Linked DNA regions of Homo sapiens: region 2 is linked to region 1. Evidence: promoter capture Hi-C in human tissues and cell types (Jung and others, 2019). All regions are on one chromosome and are shown on one strand. The core of a region is centred on a gene start or on the middle of the fragment in contact, and the rest is flanking DNA. Distances in the headings are between cores, read along the strand shown. Region 1 holds the start of PTGES3L (prostaglandin E synthase 3 like). Region 2 holds the start of PSMC3IP (PSMC3 interacting protein).

What was found. Contacts are between HindIII fragments. The study calls those that stand out against the background at their distance.
Region 2: a contact is called between the fragment with the promoter of PSMC3IP here and the fragment with the promoter of PTGES3L in region 1, in 1 of the 25 tissues and cell types used here (heart left ventricle).

The regions. Positions count from the first base shown.
Region 1 is chr17:42,978,287-42,981,364 of GRCh38, forward strand. It overlaps PTGES3L (prostaglandin E synthase 3 like), which reads right to left and starts at 1,794. Exons shown (of 7, transcript NM_001261430.2): 1 at 1,760-1,794; 2 at 1,264-1,377; 3 at 1,092-1,158; 4 at 884-982. The coding sequence starts at 1,767. PTGES3L-AARSD1 (PTGES3L-AARSD1 readthrough) reads right to left here and starts at 2,242. Exons shown (of 17, transcript NM_001136042.2): 1 at 1,760-2,242; 2 at 1,264-1,377; 3 at 1,092-1,158; 4 at 884-982. The coding sequence starts at 1,896. RUNDC1 (RUN domain containing 1) reads left to right here and starts at 2,279. Exons shown (of 5, transcript NM_173079.5): 1 at 2,279-2,788. The coding sequence starts at 2,291. RefSeq lists an enhancer at 2,206-2,275 and a silencer at 2,346-2,595. The HindIII fragment of the contact is 11,093 bases long and covers 825-3,078 here.
Region 2 is chr17:42,576,212-42,579,416 of GRCh38, forward strand. It overlaps PSMC3IP (PSMC3 interacting protein), which reads right to left and starts at 1,518. Exons shown (of 8, transcript NM_016556.4): 1 at 1,442-1,518; 2 at 1,250-1,350; 3 at 1,002-1,091. The coding sequence starts at 1,475. RefSeq lists a silencer at 1,430-1,479 and an enhancer at 1,780-1,869. The HindIII fragment of the contact is 7,362 bases long and covers 1-3,205 here.

The DNA of each region.
Region 1 (3,078 bases), core at 544-3,043:
ATCCCAGCTACTCAGGAGGCTGAGGAAGGAGAATCGCTTGAACCCGGGAAGTGGATGTTGCAGTGGGCCAAGATCGCGCCACTGCACTCCAGCCTGTGCTACGGGAGTGAGAATCCATCTCACACAAACACACACACAAAAAGAATCAAAGGTTTTGATTGTGAGTTGCAGTAAAGGGAAAGACCATGTTCATAGCAGTGCCAATATCTGAAGTGGAGTCTTACACATTTCATCACCTACAACGAAAGTAAGTTAACTGGGAGAGATTACCAAGAGAGTAAAAAGAGACTCAGGACAAATAGCTAATGTATGCAGGACTTAAAACCTGCATGACGGGTTGATAGATGCAGCAAACCACCATGGCACACGTATACCTATGTAACAAACCTGCATGTTCTGCACATGTATCCCAGAACTTTAAGTTAAAAAATAAGCCAGGCGCGGTGGCTCACGCCTGTAATCCCAGCACTTTGGGAGGCCGAGGCGGGCAGATCACCTGAAGTCGGGAGTTCGAGACCAGCCTGAGCAACAAGGAGAAACCCCATCTCTACTAAAAATACAAAATTAGCTGGGCGTGGTGGTGCATGCCTGTAATCCCAGCTACCCAGGAGGCTGAGGCAGGAGAATTGCTTGAACCCGGGAGGCGGAGGCCATGGTGAGCTGAGATCACGCCACTGCACTCCAGCCTGGGCAACAAGAGTGAAACTCCGTCTCAAAATAAATAAATAAATAAAAATAAAAAGAGAGACTAATACAGTTGGAAAAAAAAGATTAGGCAGGACTTGTTGAGTGATTGAATATTGGCTGGAAAGGAGGCAAGGACAATCCCAGCTGTAACCTGGGTACATGGAGAGAAGAAGCAGGCCACTTTCCACACACCCACCTTGATATCCTCCTTGGTAAGCCGCGGCCAGGCCACCTTTTCCTTCCATTTTCTCACAAAACAAGTAATAGAGCGGGAAGAGCGCTTATCCTGGGAGTCCTGCCAGATAGAGAGCCTCATTCTTAGGGTCTGGGGTTTAGAATTAATCTCCAGTTTCCCTGGGCAGCCCGGTTTCCATCCAAACCTTACTGTCCCATTTCACCCTTACCTTGGAGTTCACTTTGGCATAGAACTCAATCTCATTGTACAACTCCACTCCATCGGCATTCTTGCAGCTGAGGAGACAATGAAGCTGAGGAGATGCGGAATACTCCGTGTGGGGACATTAGGAAAGGGGTAGATTCCTGGGAAGCCAGGCCCTCGGACGGCAGGGCCACTACCTGAACACAATGCGGTGATCCTCAATAAGCACGTGGACATCGGTGCTGTCCTCAACACAAAACTCCATGAACACATACCTGGGCCTGTCGTACCACAAGGTCCGGGCGTGCTGCCTGAAGAGAAGTTGAGGTGTGGCTTCATAGGGGTGGGAGAGGGAAGACTGAGGTCATTTGGGAAGGGACTACCCAGGGACCTTTGATGCCACAGTTTTTTCAAAGTGGAGCTAAATGAGACAGAAGGGGTGAAAGGGAAGGGAATGACAGGAGTGGGTGGGTGTGGTGAATGTGAACCTGGGAAGAATAGAACGTGCAAGACTAGGAAACTAGGAGGTCAGGGAGAACATTCAGGTCACACCTTCCCTCACCCCACAGTTACAGAGACCAGGGGTCCGGGGCTCCCGTGGGGCCTCACAGAACCTGGAGCGCCCAGAAGACTTGGAGCAGGGAATCTCCAGGGAAAAGGGCCAGGGGGAGCACCGGAGCCGGAAACACTCACCGTGCCATTGCGGCTCCCGCTCCAGGGTGGCATTTAGAGTTCCAGGCAGGGGCCGCTATCTTTAGATCCTGGGGACGCCCCCAGCAGCTGCCTCTCCTTATATGGTCGGGAGAGCAGTTGAGAGGAAGAGAGAACATGACCTGGCAGCCAAGGGATCTGCACTCTGGAGATACTCTGGGACAGCTTCATCCTTGCAGCCCTTCACCGTGGGGTCTTCAGAAATGCATAGACTATGAAGAGACAACCCATCTGCTGGAACCAGGGCAAAGGCTGCCCTAGACGCTACACACAGGGAATGACTTTTCCCCGGTATCATTCACCTGTTTCTCCGACGCTTACTGCTCAGTGTCTGATTCACAATAGGCGCTCAATAAAACATTATTGTCCTGAATTAAATTCCCGGGGAAGGCGCGCCCTCGGGGACTTGGGTACTTCAGGCCCCGCCCACCACTCCCCTGGGGTTCCAGGCCACCGCGCCGTTGCCATGGCAGCAGGGGGGCGCGGCTGACGTGCGGTGGTGTTTCCGGGAAGATGGCGGCTGTCGAAGCGGCTGCAGAGCCGGTAACGGTGGTGGCGGCTGTTGGGCCAAAGGCGAAAGACGAAGAGGAGGAGGAAGAGGAGCCGCTGCCACCGTGCGAGGCGGTGCGCTGGGCCCCAGTGGGGGCGGTGGCGGAGGCCCGGCCTGGGGCAACCGCGTTTTTAGAAGAGGCGACGGCCGAGGAGCCTGGCGCGGCCCCGGGCTCCCCGCCGGATTCGCCGGGCCGGACGCTGCGGCGGCTGCGGGCAGAGCGGCGGCGGCTGGACTCGGCGCTGCTGGCGCTGTCCTCGCACTTCGCGCAGGTGCAGTTCCGCCTGCGCCAGGTGGTGCGCGGGGCGCCGGCGGAGCAGCAGCGCCTTCTGCGGGAGCTCGAAGACTTCGCCTTCCGCGGCTGCCCTCACGTCCTAGGTTACGAAGGGCCCGGCGACCCCGCCAGCGATGAGGGCGATGGGCTGCCAGGGGACCGGCCATGGTTGCGGGGCGAGGACCAGGTGAGTGGCTGGAGCCGGGCCGCGAGGAATATGGGAATAGTGGGGTCGTGTGGGTGGCGATCCAGACCCGGATGATGGTGCATGCGGGGAGAAGCCTCCCCGACTCGGTCGGTGAGTACGTGTGTCGGAGACCAGGGGACTGGAGTGCGGGGCCGGCTGAAGGGCAAGAGGACAGAGGCCTGGGAACCTGAGGGTGAGCGGTGTGCACGGAGGATGTGGAGAGATGTCGGTGCGTGATGACGTGAGTGGTAGAGGAGCGGTGAGCGAAGTGAGTCGTTGAGAGGGCAGCA
Region 2 (3,205 bases), core at 268-2,767, 400 kb before region 1:
CAGAATTATCTAGTGTTCGTGGATAGAAAAATAATGAGGATTGGTGAGGCCAGAGGCTGGCTGGGGCGTCTTCCGGTGCCTTTTACATGTTTTTTGCAGCACTAGAGAGCCATTGAAGAGTTTTAAATAGGGAAGGTGCATGACCAGATCTATTTAGACAGATCATTCTGACTGCAATGTTTAAGAGTTTAAGATATGTTTGAAGAGCCAAGATCTGTTAGGAGGATACTGCAACAAATAAAGAGGGCGTGAACTAGAGCAACCATGGCAGATGGAAAGGAGAGTGGATTCAAGAATGGAAAAATTAGCCAGGCTCTGTGGTTCACGCCTGTCCTCCCAGCACTTTGGGAGGCCAAGACAGGAGGATCACTTGAGCCCAGGAGTTGGGACCAACCTGGGCAGCACAGTAAGACCCATCTCTATAAAAATTAAAAAAATAAATAAAAACGGAAAAATCAGCTGGACTTGATGGTTGACTAGTAAAGGAAGTCAAGAATTGCTCCCAATTTCTGGTTTGGGTGAAGAGTAATTCCATTAGGGGAGGAGAATGTTAGAAAGAAACCAGTCCGGGGTGGGGGGAAGATGAGGCATTCTACTGTGGCAATTTTGACTCTGATATTAATGCCTGACAGATTCCAGCTGGAGGTCTGGGCTGGAGAATATAAATTTGATATGTGTGTTTAGAGAATCGGATGGAGGCAGGAGGAACATCATTTGGCAGAGGGTGTTGCTAATGTAGATGATAAGGAATAAGAGCTTTGGAGCGGAAATGGATCTTGGTAGCAACAATACAGAATCTTCTGTCATCCATCATATTGTAAATCTGGAAACCTCGTGAAGTTGGGATCCTAACAAGAGGAGTACACACCTTGATTTAAGGATGGTGGCCTAAGACAGGTGAGTTTTCCATGGGGGGCCTTGTCCCCAAAGAGTTCACACCAGGAGTAGATTCACCCGTTGTCGGGCTCTCATGGGTGACAATCGGCGCAAGTTCTCCTCACCTGATCCGCAAAATAGATCTTCTGCTTGCCGTACATCTTCTCTTTGATCTTGCCTTGTTGCGCCAGCTGCTCCAGCGTCTTCACCACCACCTGGCAGAGGAGAGAGAAGGAGCAATCAGAGGAGTCTGAGCCTGGGTCTGGGGAAATCCAGCCAGTGATGTGGAAAACGCCCAAGGCTCCAAAGGGCACGACCCCAGCCTGAATCCAGGGAGTCCGACGGAGAGGGAATCCCGGGAGAAGGTCCTCACCGCCTTGCCCAGTCCGTGTTCCCGCTGTAGGTTCCCGAACACATCCTGGGAGCTGTAGGGCCGGTTCTGCTCCTGCAGGTACCTCAGGAGGATCCCGGCGGCTACGGAGAGAAAGGCAGGGGAGGGGGCCACTCAACCGACCTCCTCACCCACTGCCCTCCCGGGTCTTCCCCGCGCCCACGGCGCCGTTACCTCCCGCCGCAGCTTCTGCCCGGCCTTTACTCATCGCCTTTCCCGCCACCCAACTCAGAAAGCCGGACGTTGTAGTTGCTCGGGGCGACGGCTCCTTCCGGCGACGGGGGCGGGCCTCGAACGGTGATTGGCTGAAGGGGAAGCCTTCCGGAGGAGCAAAGCGACCCCTCCCGGACTCCATAGTTCATTTCAGGTCGGAACTTGCGCATTCGGGCCGGACCTCAAGCCATGGGCCTCTGCGAAGGCGCCGGCGTGCCCACGGCTAAGAAACTTCCTCTTTCTGCTCCCGGGAACGAAGGCTGTAGCAGAGAAGGCCTTCAAGTTTCGAGACCCAGTTCCAGCCGCAGCTGAGCACTGGTGACCTTGAATTAAGTCTAATGTTGGGATTGGAAGACGCTTCAGACATCCGCTGCCGCCCTGGGCAAGCGACCAGCTCAAGGTTACCCCACAGGGACGTGCTCTGGTCCCACGGTCCAGTGCTCTTTTGTCGGTTAGTTTTGTCATTTGTAAAATAGGAACAGTAGATAGTGGTAGGAAAGTGGTTGTGAAAACTTAATAGAAAGCTAAGCGCCTTGGTCGGGCGCAGTGGCATGTCACCCCTGCAATTCTATCACTTTGGGAGGCTGAGGCGGGCGGATCGTTTGAGCCCAGGAATTCGAAACCAGTCTGGGCAATATGAAACCCCATCTCTGCAAATAAAGTACAAAAAATTAAGAGTGGTGGCGCGCTTCTGTGGTCCCAGCTACTCTGGAGGCTGAGGTGGGAGGGTCACCAGAGCCCCGGACATCGAGGCTGCAGTGAGCCACTATGAGCGCGCCACTGCACCCCATCCTGGCGACAGAGCGAGACGCAGTCTCGAACAAAAAAAAAAAAAGTGGGAAGGGGGGACAGCTAAGCGCCTTGGAGAGCAACCACCCTTATTTGCCTAATACCGAGCTTCGCACCCAGGGGGCACTCGACACCTACTGTAGTTTGGACGCCAAGGAACGATAGGGTTAGGAGGGGGCTACTGTTCAACCACAAAGCTTGTGGAAAAGTTTGTTAGCCCAGACAATCTCAGGGCAACACCTGGCAGGTGCTTTCCACCCCTGACCACAGTGGCCAATGGGACAGAGCCTGAAATAAATATTTCTAGTTTCTGAGGTGAGCTGAAGGCCAAAGAGCAGCTGTCCCTGCAGCTCAGACCATCCAGTGAAGGAGTAAGGTGCTACTTTTTAAAGCCTTCTGCTACCTACAACCTCCTTAGCCTTTAAAACGTGTGCTTGTCTCTGCACGTTTAGGAGACAATATTAAGAATTAGAAATGAAAGGGCCGAGCGCGGTGGCTCACGCCTGCAATCCCAGCACTTTGGGAGGCCAGGGCGGGCGGATCACGAGGTCAGGAGATCGAGACCATCCTGGCTAACACTGTGAAACCCCATCTCTACTAAAAATACAAAAAATTAGCCAGGCGTGCTGGTGGGCGCCTGTAGTCCAAGCTACTCAGGAGGCTGAGGCAGGAGAATGGCGTGAACCCGGGAGGCGGAGCTTGCAGTGAGAGATCGCACCACTGCACTCCAGCCTGGGCGACAGACCAAGACTCCGTCTCAGGAAAAAAAAAGAAATTAGAAATGAAGGAAATACAGGCTAAATACTAGCCAAGAGTGCCAGTTATACTGATGGTGGGGCTCTCACAAGAAGGAAAGTAGCCTCATACTATGGTGATGTTCTGGCCATCACGAAGTAAAAATAGGGGTGGGCTGGTGGGTCCCTCATACCTGGGCTT